Regions from separate parts of the Homo sapiens genome. Here regions 2, 3, 4 and 5 are each linked to region 1. Evidence: promoter capture Hi-C in 16 types of primary human blood cells and fetal thymus (Javierre and others, 2016). All regions are on one chromosome and are shown on one strand. Each heading gives the region's core, a stretch centred on a gene start or on the middle of the fragment in contact. The rest is flanking DNA. Distances are from core to core; before and after follow the strand shown.

The links. Contacts are between HindIII fragments. The CHiCAGO score rates a contact against its expected background, and 5 or more counts as called.
Region 2: a contact is called between a fragment that was not itself captured here and the fragment with the promoter of ACSL4 in region 1, in 1 of 17 cell types (neutrophils). The highest score is 11.1, in neutrophils.
Region 3: a contact is called between a fragment that was not itself captured here and the fragment with the promoter of ACSL4 in region 1, in 3 of 17 cell types (total B cells, neutrophils and naive B cells). The highest score is 6.7, in total B cells.
Region 4: a fragment that was not itself captured here is called in contact with the fragment with the promoter of ACSL4 in region 1 in 9 of 17 cell types (neutrophils, non-activated CD4 T cells, total B cells and 6 more); the score reaches 15.8 in neutrophils.
Region 5: a contact is called between a fragment that was not itself captured here and the fragment with the promoter of ACSL4 in region 1, in 1 of 17 cell types (neutrophils). The highest score is 5.8, in neutrophils.

What each region holds. Positions count from the first base shown.
Region 1 is chrX:109,731,890-109,734,639 of GRCh38, reverse strand. ACSL4 (acyl-CoA synthetase long chain family member 4) reads left to right here and starts at 1,383. Exons shown (of 16, transcript NM_001318510.2): 1 at 1,383-1,501. LOC105373311 (a long non-coding RNA gene) reads right to left here and starts at 2,129. Exons shown (of 1, transcript NR_158569.1): 1 at 1-2,129. RefSeq lists silencers at 1,121-1,430, 1,528-1,648 and enhancers at 1,771-1,910, 1,971-2,020. The HindIII fragment of the contact is 5,191 bases long and covers 1-2,750 here.
Region 2 is chrX:110,035,367-110,038,116 of GRCh38, reverse strand. The region is part of intron 2 of TMEM164 (transmembrane protein 164); the gene reads right to left. Among named protein-coding and RNA genes, the nearest start is that of MIR652, 19 kb to the left of the region's middle. The HindIII fragment of the contact is 5,858 bases long and covers 1-2,750 here.
Region 3 is chrX:110,013,082-110,015,831 of GRCh38, reverse strand. All of the region lies in intron 2 of TMEM164 (transmembrane protein 164), which reads right to left. Among named protein-coding and RNA genes, the nearest start is that of TMEM164, 11 kb to the right of the region's middle. The HindIII fragment of the contact is 266 bases long and covers 1,281-1,546 here.
Region 4 is chrX:109,996,531-109,999,280 of GRCh38, reverse strand. No RefSeq gene overlaps it. Among named protein-coding and RNA genes, the nearest start is that of TMEM164, 5.2 kb to the left of the region's middle. The HindIII fragment of the contact is 4,228 bases long and covers 1-2,750 here.
Region 5 is chrX:109,473,882-109,476,631 of GRCh38, reverse strand. GUCY2F (guanylate cyclase 2F, retinal) reads left to right here. Exons shown (of 20, transcript NM_001522.3): 2 at 611-1,425. The coding sequence starts at 696. Among named protein-coding and RNA genes, the nearest start is that of GUCY2F, 6.8 kb to the left of the region's middle. The HindIII fragment of the contact is 1,503 bases long and covers 568-2,070 here.

The sequences.
Region 1 (2,750 bases), core at 134-2,633:
AATCTTGAAAAAGGAAGCTACATGACTGTCTTAGCAATATTTATAGGTATATTATATGTAAGTGGGTGGGTTTCTTGGAAATTGAATTGGTAATATGGCTTTAGAGTAGTAACACAAAAACTATAGCTCTGTGCTCTCAGCTAACCACTTTTAGTGTCACCTGGGCTGCTTATTAAAAATTCAAATTTCTTATCCCTACCCAGATCAGAATCAAAATACCTGGGGGTTGTAGCTCCAGGTACCTACATTTCAACAAGCACCCCAGATAATTGTGATGCACACTGAAGAACTACTCTAGCTTGTAATCTCAGGTGGTAAGGCATTTTATATATACATATATATATACACACACACAAGCACAAATGGTAATTCTATGGGAAAATGGAAATCAGCAAGTGAAGTGAAATGTCAATTACCATCAGGAACAGGAAGCTAGTTCACCATTACGCATCAGGGAACTGGAAGAATTCTTGAGATTTATTTTTTTGGGTGATATATTCTTGGCAGTTTATCAGGCCTCATTTGCAATTATGGTCTGTCCCTTTTGAAGCCCTCAGATAGTTCGCTGGCATTTTAATTTTAATAGCAATTTCTTGCATCTGTTGGAACAGCATTCGTATGACCGGCTTATAAGCAATGATCAGGGCTAGTAAGATGTCACAAAGCTGCGGTGACTTTTCCTTATCAGTTGGGGGTTTTTTTGCCATGATACCATCGTGGAAATGAAAGACAACGTGAAAATCCTGCGTCCTTGTGATATTTCATCAGTGGGAGTGAGCGGGGATCTTAACGCAGTAAGAGGCAAGATAAACGGATGAGAGGCATTAGTTCAGGCTTACAGGAGCAAGATGCTTTTAGTCAAAGTGTTCAAGATAGCTCTCTTAAAGAGGAGCAGTGAAACCCAAAAATGAGTGTCTTTTGAGGGCAGCTGGAAGATGACCCGAGGGGAACTTTTATCCTGGGGTGGAGTCCTGCGAAGCAAGCCGCAGGTGAGGGCGTGGGCCAATTCTGCGCCTCACTGCTGTTAGGCGCAAGGACATCCCGAAACACACTCAACGACACCAGCAGCGAGACTGACAGAAGCGGATCGCCAGCGGGAGCAACAACTTGAGGCGAGCCGTTAGCCGCCTCGCCTTCCTCGCAGCGCCCCTCCCGCGCCCCGGGAAGCCCGTTCGGCTCCGCCTTTTCGACTGACGTCCCGGGCGAGCGGGGGCGGGCGCGTGGGTGGGCCGAGCCGTCTGCAGCCAGCGATTCGGCTGGCTCTGCCACACCACCGCGCGCCCCCGCTCCGCCCGCCCCTCCGGGCGCGTCTTTTCCGGGCTCGCGCTGAGTCCCGCCTCCGCCGGCTGTCCGGGTGCGCGCGCGCCGCTGCGGCTTTTTCTCTGGCCTCCGCCGCGCGCTCCTCCTCGTCCCAGCGCTAGCGGGCACGCGGTTCCTTTTTGCGAGCTTTCCGAGTGCCAGGCGCCGGCCGGCTGCGAAGACGCGGTGGGCCGCCCCTCCGGTGAGTATCCCTGGATGGGGAGGTTGCGGCCCCGGCACCCCTGCCCTGTCGGTACCAGGGCCCCATTTCCAGAGGGGGACTGGCGTACCTCACCTGAGCCGGGAGGAGGTTGGGTGGGCATTCCAGCTCCTGGAGTCGGCTCGCTTTTTTCCTTGAGCCAGGGCTATCTATCCGCTCGCCTCCGCTGGGGCCGGGAAGATTCCCGAGGTCACTGTATCTGCTCCTGTGATGGACTCTGGGGTCCTCGGAACCCCAGCCTGCCTCTTCCTGCCGCTCACCGCATCCCGAGGGCCAGAAGTCATCTTCCTGATCGGGGTACTAGGCTTTGCCACGGCCCTTTCCGGAGGAGACCATGAAGTGCTTGCTAGACCTCCAAACGACCTTTAGGGTGCCCCTAAACCTCAACTCCATTTTGTCCCCTCCCAGTCGCTCTGTAACTGAGGGCTAGGGAGCCTCTCTAGCCCTAGAGGCATCCGCCCTCTCGAATTTGAGGGATGCCGTCGCTTCCGATATCTTCCTTGCTTCCGATATCTTCCTAGCTTCCGTAGGCTTAGGTTTGTTAGAAAACAGCTGGATCCTGGCGAAGCGTGCTTTCCTTCCTTCCCCCACCCCCGTTCTTTCTGTCTACATCCCTGCCTTCAGTGGGTGCTATATATTTAGTATGAGCTTTATTCACTTCCTCTTCCTCTCGTTTGAGTGCCTGAAAGAACTGTGGCTGATGTCTATAGACATAGAAAAATCTAGGAGAATATGATTCATTGTCTAACCCCATCAAGGGGTTACATATTTTAAATAAGACGTCATTTCTCCTCTTCACTCCAGCATCTCCTCCTTCAAAGGCATTTTTCACCCTCTTGAAATTAATACGCTCTATTCGCTCTTTTCACCTAAAAAAAGGTCAATCGTCGCTCTGAGAAACAACAGTGAGATGCAAAATAAGGGTAAAATGGCATTGAAATGAATCCCTTTGAAAAAGTAAGCGGTTTGCTTTATCAGTTAATGGTCTCATCAGCGCTTCAGTTTCCTCTTCTGCAAAAATCAGTCTGTTGAACTAGAGCATATCAAAGGTTCCTTCTAGTGTTTTGATTCTAGGACCTCTAAATTCATGCAGGCTGCATAATGCAAATTTAACCTGATTAAAGCCTTATTTCTCATAGTCGCTTGTCACCTTAGTTTTTCTTTTATTTTGTCTCTAACAAGAAAGACTTTTAAATGTTCTTGATACGTAAGGCAGCAGGTGGAGATTCAA
Region 2 (2,750 bases), core at 77-2,576, 300 kb before region 1:
TGGGAGGCTGAGGCAGGAGAATGGCGTGAACCCGGGAGGCGGAGCTTGCAGTGAGCCGAGATCCTGCCACTGCACTCCAGCCTGGGCGACAGAGCGAGACTCCGTCTCAAAAAAAAAAAAAAAAAAAAAAAATGAGTCCAAAGGCTGTTCTTTAGGAATACGATAGTTAATGATTAAGTCCATGTGCTAAGGTCACGATGCAGTTATGGAAATATAAGCAATCTAATAAAGGACGGAGTGAGGGCAGTAAGGAGTAGGTAGTGGGAAGAAATATTAATTCAACTTAATTGAAAGGTTCAACTTAATTTAAAGGTTAAAAAATGAGATTGAAAATATTCTCCTAACAGTAAAATTAGAAATTTGCTATCGGCCCTTAAAGGAAGCAGGCAAGTGAGAACAGAATGAATGGGCTCCCAGATTGTTTCTGAAGAGTCAAAGAGCCATTCAAGACACACCTTTCAAGGTACCAGGGTCACAGATGGCAATTTTGCCTGTGGCTAAGCAGAGGTGACTGGCCTGCCTCCTGTCACATAGGCGGCCATTCTCCACAGCCCCCCAGCTACAAGCCCTCCACAATATATGGTGGTGTATATCTGAACCACAGGAAGGCACACAATAACTGGAAGCTAATGCAAAAATAAATCATTTGTGTTTTCTGATGTGGCTGGGTTTTGATGGAGTTTGTGAATCACTACTGCCCAACCCTATCCACTGAAGGAGGGGCCAATAACTCACATCCTTTCCCAGCAGCTTCATACGCCTGGCAAAGGTGACCTTGCAACACCACACTCATCTATCACTCCTCTTTTCATGAATCTTTAATGGTTCCCTATCACCAATCGTATCATGTCCATATGTCTCCTCTAGGTATTCCAGCTTATTGTACTCTGCCTTTATCCTACCAATCTGGCATCATCTCCCTTTTCTCACAACATACACCTCCCGCTGGAATCAGTTTCCATTTTGAACCAAACTTATGGCTTCCCCTCTCTCTCTCTCTCTCTACGGCTCTACCAGGGTCTAGACTGCCTCTCCAAAATTCCAGAAAACTACAATGTCAATGTTACTGTGGGTCACTATACATACCCAGCTTCTTTTGGCCATAAAAAAGAGACCATAACTTTAAATATTCTACATTATCCTGCACTGTCCCATATGGTTACCACTAGCTACATGTGGCTATTTAAAGTATTTAAAATTAGTAAAATGAAAAAAAAAATCAGTTCCTCATTTGCAGTAACCACATATACAGTGCACAATAGCCACATGTGGCCACTGACTACCATATCAGACAGTGCAGATATAAAACATTTCCATCATCACATAAACTTCTACCAGATACACAAGAGAATAGCCTAACATATGCTAAAATTGTTTTTTATCACTACTTGGAAAATTTGATGATTCAAATTTCACAAAAAAGAGTGACTAGGACTTATAGATACAGCCCATCTTAAGTAACCAGCAAAGCATCTCTTATCAGTGATCCCAATCCGTTCTGTAAACATCACAGGTAATTGCAACATCGAATATTTTGAAAGGTCATCTGCAGCAGACCTTAGGCACCTTTCAACATAGCTCTGATAGGCTAATCAGCCCATTGTACACTAAGCTCTCTACTAGGCTCTGGGAGTCAATGCAAAGATAACATTACCCAGTGTCCATGCCATAGGCATAAAGCCAGTACAGAGATAACCAAAAAAAGGGGCAGAAAGACATAAATACCACAAGAGAGGTACACAGTGCTACAGGGATTCAAAGGCAAGAGATCATATCGAGTAGGAGGAACTAGGGAGGACTCCACAGACAGGTACATGAATACAGATAGGATTGAGCCCTAAAGAATAAGTAGAATTTTAACAGAAGGAGCCAGAAAGATGAAAGGGGGTAACTGCATGAGGAAAAGGAGAAGCAAGTTAGGGCCCAAGGTACATTTATGAAAAACTGAGCCAAAGAAGAACTATGTGATCCCATTCATCATTCAACAATCATTTGAAACTTTTTCTCCAATCACCTTAACAAAGAATTACACATTAACTTAGATGCCATTTTTTTAAAATTTGCTTTAAAAAAAAGATTTTGCTTTAGTGACAATATCTGATGTTGGTGAGGATGAGTTGGAAGAGGCTCTCTCTGTCCCCACTGCTAGTAGGAATGTACATAAGCACTACCTTTTTTAAAAAAAAACAACAAAAAAAGAGATATTAAGCTCCTTAAAAACATCCATACCCCTGTCCTGGTAACTCCACTTCAAGGAAAGTGACCTACAAAATAATGTGAAACACAAAGATTTGTACAAGAGTAAACTTTTTAAAGTTTATAACTGCAAAAAAAAAAAAATAGGAGCACATTGGGAGGCCGAAGTGGGCGGATCACTTGAGATCAGGAGTTCGAGACCAGCCTGGACAACATGGTAAAACCCCATCTCTACTAAAAAATACAAAAATTAGCTGGCCGCGGTGATGGTAGCCTGTAGTCCCAGCTACTTGGGAGGCTGAGGCACAAGAATTGCTTGAACCTGGGAAGCAGAGGTTGCAGTGAGCTGAGATCGTGCCACTGCACTCCAGCCTGGGTGACAGAGCAAGAATCCATCCCCCCTAAAAAAAAAAAAAGGAAATGGCTAGGTAAATTATGATCCAGTTACATACAGGATGGAGTACCACATAGGCATTAAGAGTTATGCCAACAAGTTTTAAATAACACAGGAAACGTTTATGAGGATGCTTAGTGAAAAAAATCAGGTATAAAAT
Region 3 (2,750 bases), core at 164-2,663, 280 kb before region 1:
AGAGTAAAGTCAGCTGCCCTGCAGCAGAAGGGAGATCCAAATGTAGAGGCGGTCCCTTTCCTCAGGGTGCCAACATTCCCTGTGGGGCTGGGGCTCCAGGAAATAGGTAGAAATACCCACATGAAGCAGCAGCCAGTAGCAGTGGCAGCCCAAGGGACCAAGTGTGAAAGCGCTGCTGATAATGAGGCACTTGTGCACATGACTCTGAGCAACATTCCTGCAGGGTGCAGAGAATAAAGTGACAGGCGCGCACACACACACACACACACACACACACACACTCAAGTTCCTGGAACTTAAAAAAGGAAACTCTTAACAAATGCAAACCAACAATGAACAAGTGCTGATATGAAGAGGACCCTTTGTTACAATCTTCCCTAGGTCTTAGAATGTGTGAACTTTCATAACTAATTTCCAAGCGCTGCTGTTTATTTGGGTTGCTGTTTGTTTAGAAATGCCCTCTAAACCAGCTCCTCTTCCAGGAACCAGGTTATAGAAAACATGACCTTAGCTTTCTCAATTCTCCCACCTCCAAGACTAAGAAACAGCCTTCTTACCCACAATGCTTGGGAATATGCCCAGAGGCCTTCCAATGGCCTTGGCAGGATACAGCACACCCCCCACATCCCAAGGCCTGAAATCACATGATCAAGGTCTAGGCCCCAGAAGGCTGCTCTTAAGGGGATCCTTCTCTAGTGATTGGTGGCTTAGGCCCCAGACCTCAGTCTTGAAAACGAGGCCCCAGAGCAAAGTCTTGAAAAGGAGGAGAGCTGGTCTTAAGGAGAGAGGATTACCATATCCCGGAGATGTAAGAATAATTGGTTTTTTTCTGTCCATTTGCTGATGCAAAAAGCCAAGGCACAGTGAAGTCTTCTCCTGAAAGCAGCACAGTTTCCACTATACTGTGCTTCTCCTTCAGCTAAGATACTTGTTCACTTGAACCTGCCTTTCACCCAGGAGCTCTGGGGGTGGCCCTTTCTCTTCCAACAGTTACCCAGCTCTGGTAATAGTTGGCACTGGAGAAAGTTGCACTCCCCTTAATCAAAAGAAATAAATGAAAAAGTAAAAAAAAAAAAAAAAAAAAAAAGAAACAACCAAAAAAAAAAACCCATTCACCAGTCTATGCCCACCCCATTCCCCCAAGCTCACTCCTTTCATACTTCTGTCACAAACTCACTGGTTTCCTAGACTACCAATCTCAAGAGAGTTTGCACCATGGAGCCAGCCCATTGATAAAGAGCAATAATAATTAAGCCAATAGGTCCCCGGAAAGCTAAGCTTCCTAACAATGAGAGCCACCTTCTAAATTCTTTAAATCTTAGAGATGTAAGAAGAGTTGCCATTTTAAACAGAATCACCCAGTCACCCAGAAAGGACTGGATAATTTAAAGTACCTTCACATTACCCACAAACACGTCCTTAAGCCTCAAACAGCCAAACAACCCTGTCCCGCAGAAATTATTACATGGGTGCTAACTTCATGGAACCAATACCTTTGCCCACTGCATGAAATTATGATGCCAGGGAAGATTTTCTTGGAAAAGCTTTCCTGTATCAAATCCCTACCATCTTATTGCAACAACAGGCACCCAGGCTCGAAGCAGCAGCCATAGTGAGAATGATGATGACTGTCATCATCACCCTCACCATCTTAGTTGCCGACATCATCGTCATCATCATCATCATCATTTAAATGTATTGAATGTGTCTTATGTGCCAGATACTATCTTAAATGCTTTATTAATATTTTCTCATTTTTCTCACTTAATCCTCACAACAACTCTGGTAATGTTCAAGTTTGATCATATCATTTTATGAATGTGGGAACACAGGCTCAGAGAGGTTAAGTAATTTGCCCACGGTTACAGAGCTAGTGGTAGAATTTGAATCTAGGCTTTTACCACCCTAGAGCCTGTACTCTTACCCAATACACCACTATGATCTTGAAATGTTAAGTAATACTATTACTATTAAAAACTGCTAACATTTATTTAGTGCACACAATAAGCCAGAAATTCTGCTAAATACTTGATTTAAATTATTTTATTTAACCCTCACAACAACCCTATTATTATTCCCATTTTACAGATGCAGCTAAGTAACATGCCTAAGGTTACATGGTGATGGAGCTCAAACCCAAACCCAGGAAATATGGTCCAAAGGCTCTATCCACCAAGCTGAACTTGCATTAGGAAAATGAAGCATTCCTACTGCCCTACTTAAGTCAGGATCCCCGCTGTATCCCAGTCCAAGCCTACAATGTCCCAGCAAGAATTTGGCAAGTAAATGCCAATGAGGAAACTTATCTGGCCCTGATGTGTACACACCAGCCACTCAGATCTGATTAATGTTAAGAAAAGAAGATCAAAACTCTTTATAGAAGTCTCTCTTTACCCCATTTTCCTTCAACCTGATTTCTGAAGAGAACACCTGACTACCAGCCTTTTTGTGCTCTGCCCAGAACATCTAATAAGTGTTTACCCAGGACTCCCAGAGCCATAGTTAAGGGCCTTAATGTGCAATCTGGCTCTGCACCTTATTTAATCAGCACCTGAATGAAATGTCTCTTTGCTAGCAACAGCCAGAACACAGTCAGTCAGAGTCTTTCTGCAAACACAGCTGGTCGATTGGCAAAGACAATTCAATTCACAGGCAAAATACACCCTGACTTTATACCAATACTGGCATGTGATGGACATGAGGAGACTGAAGGCACTGGGCTAGAATTAGGATGGTACCATGCTTCCTTT
Region 4 (2,750 bases), core at 82-2,581, 260 kb before region 1:
CCAGGCTGATCTCCAACTCCTGGCCTGAAGTGATCCACCCACCTCGTCCTCCCAAAGTGCTGGGATTACAAGCGTGAACCACTGCGCCTAGTTGTTTTAACGATTTTTAATTGTACAATTTAATGACTTTAATCACATTCACAATGTGCAACCATCACTACTCTATTTCTGAAAGTTTTCATCACCCCAAATAGAATTCCTATACCCATTAAGCAAAAAAAAAAAAAAAAAAAAAAGTCCAACCTCCATGAGACAGAGTCTCACTCTATCCCCTAGACAGGAGTGCAGTGGTGCAATCTCGGCTTACTGCAACCTCCGCCTCCGAGGTTCAAGTGATTCTCCTGCCTCAGCCTCCCGAGTAGGTGGGACTACTGGCATGTGCCACCATGCCTTGCTAATTTTTGTATTTTTAGTAGAGACTGGGTTCCACCATTTTGGCCAGGCTGGTCTTGAACTCCTGACCTCAGGTAATCTGCCCTCCTCAGCCTCCCAAACTGCTGGGATTATAGGCATGAGCCACCGCATCTGGCCAGCCTGAGCTAGTTTTTCAAGTTTTCTTTCCAGGTCCTCTTAGCCAAGGTAGGGGGTGTGTGTTGGGGGGTGTGTCTGTTCAGTCATTTAGGGGGCTTAAAATTTTATTCTGGGTTTACAAGTAGAATAACAAAGTGTTTTTAGGATATGGATTCGAATCTAACCCCATTTATATTATTTACTTGCTGTGTCACCTTGGACAATTTACTCTCAACCTCCCTGTGCCTCAATTGCCTCATCTATTAATTGAAAGATACTATTATCAAATTGATGAGGTTATGCACAGTCAAATGAGCTGAATGTTGGGGACCATAAGGTGGTGTCTGGTGCATAGAGAGTGTTCACTAAGTGCTCCCTATTATTACCCATCCCTGCATTTGCATGTGTACACACACCCAAGCACGTGCACGCACACACAACCTCAAATTCAGCGCCCTCCCCCACATTTGCATAAACAATCCTACCATCCTTCAAAGCCCACGTAAAATTTCACTCCCCCCAATCCCCCTCCCTCAGCTCCTGGAGCTCTCTTCCTCCTCTGAACTTGTACAGCATTTATTGCCTGCACTACTCATTTTATTCTGAATCACATACTGCCTTCCATTGTTCTCTCATTGTGACTCTTGTCTCCCACACCAGGCTCTTTGAGAGCTGGGAATGGATCTTAATCTTTTCTAAACCCCACCCACAGCACCTAGCAGAGTGGCAAACTCCTAGTAGGCACTAAATAAGCACTAGGAGATTGTTGTCCCCATAAGTAAAAGGCAGGTAATAATTGAGGTGAAATGGTATGTTGAATTTAGAACTGCAAAAGCTGCAGGCAAAAGTCCTGATCATATCTTTGCTGGGATACAGGCCAGAGCTTTCTTGTCGCCAACCAGTAACAAGAGCAAATCAACTTTGCTTTTTAAGTAGATCCTTGAAGCACAACAGTGAAAACGGAACCCAGAATCCAGGCTTGGTTCAGTGAAACCTTGGGGAAAATAATCTCTCTGTGCTTCTGTGTACTCAGAAGCAAAATGAGAGGGTTGGACTAGAATGGTCTCTAAAATACCTGCTGGCATTAATCTTCTATGATTCTACGAACTCAACCTTCCCACCTTTTTATCCCAGTCTGGTTTGAATCTTAAAGCAGAAAGATAATCTACCTACCTGACTTGGAGATCTGGGGAGTCTGGGGAGACAATGCTCTAAATTCTTTTGGCCAAAGTGCCTCCCAGCTATGAACACAGCTGACCTACTGTGGAGTGCAAAGTGTCAGAAATTATTACCTCTGTTGTACCACAGACAAACTGAGGTTCAGACAAGTGAAGTGACTTGCCTAAGGTCACACAAGTTAGTGGCAGAGTGAGGACTAGAACTTGAGGTTCTAACTCCCGGTCCAGTGATCTTTCAACAGTAGGAGCCAGAGCAAGCTCGTTCCTTTGACTTCATCATCTTACCTTTTCTCCTCCTGCACTTTATTCTTTGAATCAACTCCTACCACTCTGTCCACAATGGAACCTGAGAGTCGAATGCATACATGATCTTTCACAAGCAAAAAACAATGCACACTCCCAACATTATATGAAGTGTTAGCAGTAAAAATAAACTGCATATGTACGGAGGATGGAGAAGTCTTTGTCTTAATTTGACTGTCTGCTTACTGCTTCTGCCACCATGCAAAACATTCGACACCAGCATTCATTCCGTAAGTACTTTCTGAGTCTCTATTATGTTCATAGGAATGCTCTATTGCCTGTGAGCAATGTCTGCTCTCAAGGAGCTTAAAATTCAGCTAGGGAGATACTCACAAACAAGGGAGGTTAGAAAACAATAAATAAGGGAAGTATAAACACAAGCCAAGAAAATATGAGCTGCTACCACAAAAACAAGTCTTGTATGTGTCAAGTGAGTTTTACCAACAAGGAGAGTGAGAAGAATTCAGGCATAGTTCAACACCAAGTAAAGCCATCTATGGGGAGAAAGGTCAGCATGGCAGATACCCTAGAGACACTGACGGGAAGGGAAAAGAAGGAAGCCTCCTGGAATGCCAGCAATGCTCTGTGTCTTGATCTGGGTGACGTTACATGGATGTATACATATGTAAACCTACATAGCGTGCACACTTTAGAGTTGTACGTTTTACTGTATGTCAGTAATGCCTCAATTAAAAAAAAAAAGTTCAGAAAAGAGGGAAAACACCAGGAGCAGGAATTGCCAGGAACATGTTCATAGAG
Region 5 (2,750 bases), core at 70-2,569, 260 kb after region 1:
CTAACTTTTCTTCAGTACTCAATCCAGAGAGACTGTTCTTCCTCCCTTCTCTCCTCCCCTGAAATCTGGGTTTAGGTGATCCTCTCTGTCTCTCTGTTTGGGCTACCTCAATCATAGCACTTTTTACTCTGCATTGTTATTATCTGTTTACATCTATTTCTCTCCAAGAGAGCTGTATGGGAGAGAAAAATGGACATATTGAAAACTATAATAATGATACTATGTCTAATATAATGCCAATGACTTGCCAGGCTCTGTTATAAGCACTTGCCGTGTGTTAACTCATGTAATTTTCAAAACACTGTAAGGTGGGCAGCTATTACTGAAGTTGAATAAATAGGAATTGGTGATAGATTGAATGTGGGGGAAGAGAAGGAGTCTCAGTGATTTCCAGTTTTCTGAAAGAAGCAAGTGGGCAAACAGTGGATGGATGTGCCATGTACTGAGATACGGGGTACAGGAAGAGGAGGAGTTTTGTCAGGATGGGGGAAAGAAACTTTTAGTTTGGGCACTGCCATTTTTTTTTTTTTTTTGCCATTCTTTCACAACCGATGATTTCCAGAAGCTTCAGAAATAATGTGAGTAACAAACCTTTTCCTCTGATTGACAGGCATTTGGAAACACCACCGTCTGTGTCGGGAAAGCAGAATAACTCTCCAGTATCTCGTCATTAGCTTGCTGGAAGCAGGAGGGCTATGTTCCTGGGACTCGGGCGCTTTTCTCGCCTTGTTCTCTGGTTTGCGGCTTTCAGGAAACTGCTGGGACACCATGGCCTTGCATCTGCCAAGTTCCTGTGGTGCTTGTGCCTTCTGTCTGTCATGTCCCTTCCGCAGCAGGTGTGGACACTCCCCTACAAGATAGGGGTGGTGGGCCCTTGGGCTTGTGATTCGCTGTTTTCAAAGGCCCTGCCTGAGGTTGCTGCGCGATTAGCCATTGAGCGAATCAACCGGGACCCATCTTTTGACCTGAGTTATTCTTTTGAATACGTGATTCTCAATGAAGACTGCCAGACTTCGAGGGCTCTCTCCAGTTTCATTTCCCACCACCAGATGGCCTCAGGATTTATTGGACCTACCAACCCTGGCTACTGCGAGGCAGCCTCGCTCCTGGGAAACAGCTGGGACAAAGGAATTTTCTCTTGGGCTTGTGTGAATTATGAATTAGACAATAAAATTAGCTACCCGACCTTTTCTCGGACACTCCCTTCTCCCATCCGGGTGCTTGTAACTGTCATGAAATATTTCCAGTGGGCTCATGCTGGAGTCATTTCCTCAGATGAAGACATTTGGGTGCATACAGCCAATCGAGTCGCAAGTGCTCTTCGGAGCCACGGCTTACCTGTAGGGGTCGTCCTGACCACAGGACAAGACAGCCAAAGCATGCGGAAAGCCCTCCAGAGGATTCACCAGGCAGACAGAATTCGCAGTGAGTGCTTTCTCCCGCTGAAATTTAAACGTGACTTCAGGGAAAGAGATTACAATCTCCAAAAGGTTTCCTACCCTCACACCCTAGGGTAGCACATCCCTTCCCATTTCTTTACACATTTGCCCTTTTTCACTCACACACAGGTCCCAAGACTGCCCTGCTTCAACAGAGCCTATTTTATGAACTGAATAACAGTACAAAGAACTCTGTGCTTCATATGCCTGTGAATGCTAGTGCCTGCTCTTAGCGCCTGAGTGAAGAATGGTGTCAAGAGCACTGTAGCCATACATCCTTTCTTTCTGCCCTTAGGACCTTGGTAGCTTCGAAAGTGCCAAAATGGTATGGGGAGGCGCGGGTCTTCTTATGGCTTCATTTTTGTTTGTTCTAGTCACTGAGGAGAGATTTACTTTTGACTCCCTTCTGGATACTTTCCTTCAACGGTACCCAGTGTCCTTGTGGGACACTTACTTAGAATCTGTCTTCTGTGGACTCCGAAATGTCCATACCTTCTGCCTTTTCTCAAAGCAGGGCTTTTCTTTTTGCAGCACACAGTTAGTTGATATGGGGGGCACCTAGCTGATGAATGAAAGCATATTAAAATGAAAAGACTGTCTAAATTTTAAGTTTCCCCTTCCAATGGAAGCTTAATGTTCAAAGACGATTCTTGCAGAGACGATAGACAAAATGTGAAGCAAAGGACTTGACCCACTAAAGCTATCATTCTCAAAGTTAGTTGGGTGCATTTTGGCAAAAGGGGGCCCTTTCTGGTCCTCTTGAATCAGATCTCTTTTACTCACACTTATGGCAAGCCCTTGTGACACCTAGTTTTGATTTTTTCTATTCCAATTTTTTAACCTCCATTTTACCTTCCTCTGGAGATGGCTATGATTCATGGGAACGCTGCTCATTCCCCCACTGCAGCCACTCCACCACTTTAGGATGGATATCTCAGAAACTATTTGACAAACTGATTCCTTCAAGGATTAGTCCTGGTCCCAGTCATTTCCTTAACCATTGTTAAGGAAATGTTTGTTAGAGAATGGTCCAGCTTAGGCCTGGCCTATAATCAGAAGCCTGTTTTAAGTTTCAAGTGGCTTCAGTATTGGACCTTAATTATGATGATCACAAGAGGATGAGGGCAAGAGGAGTTTTTAGTTCCAGAACTACAGTAATCTGCCTCCAGCTCCAGTTGACAAGATTCCGTGATGTTTAGCAATCAGTATGGCTCTGATTACTTCATAATAGAGCTTGATACTTTCAAAGCAGAGCATAGAATTATTTTGAAAGACATAAAATCATTTGCAGGAGGAGCCATGCCAGAAACA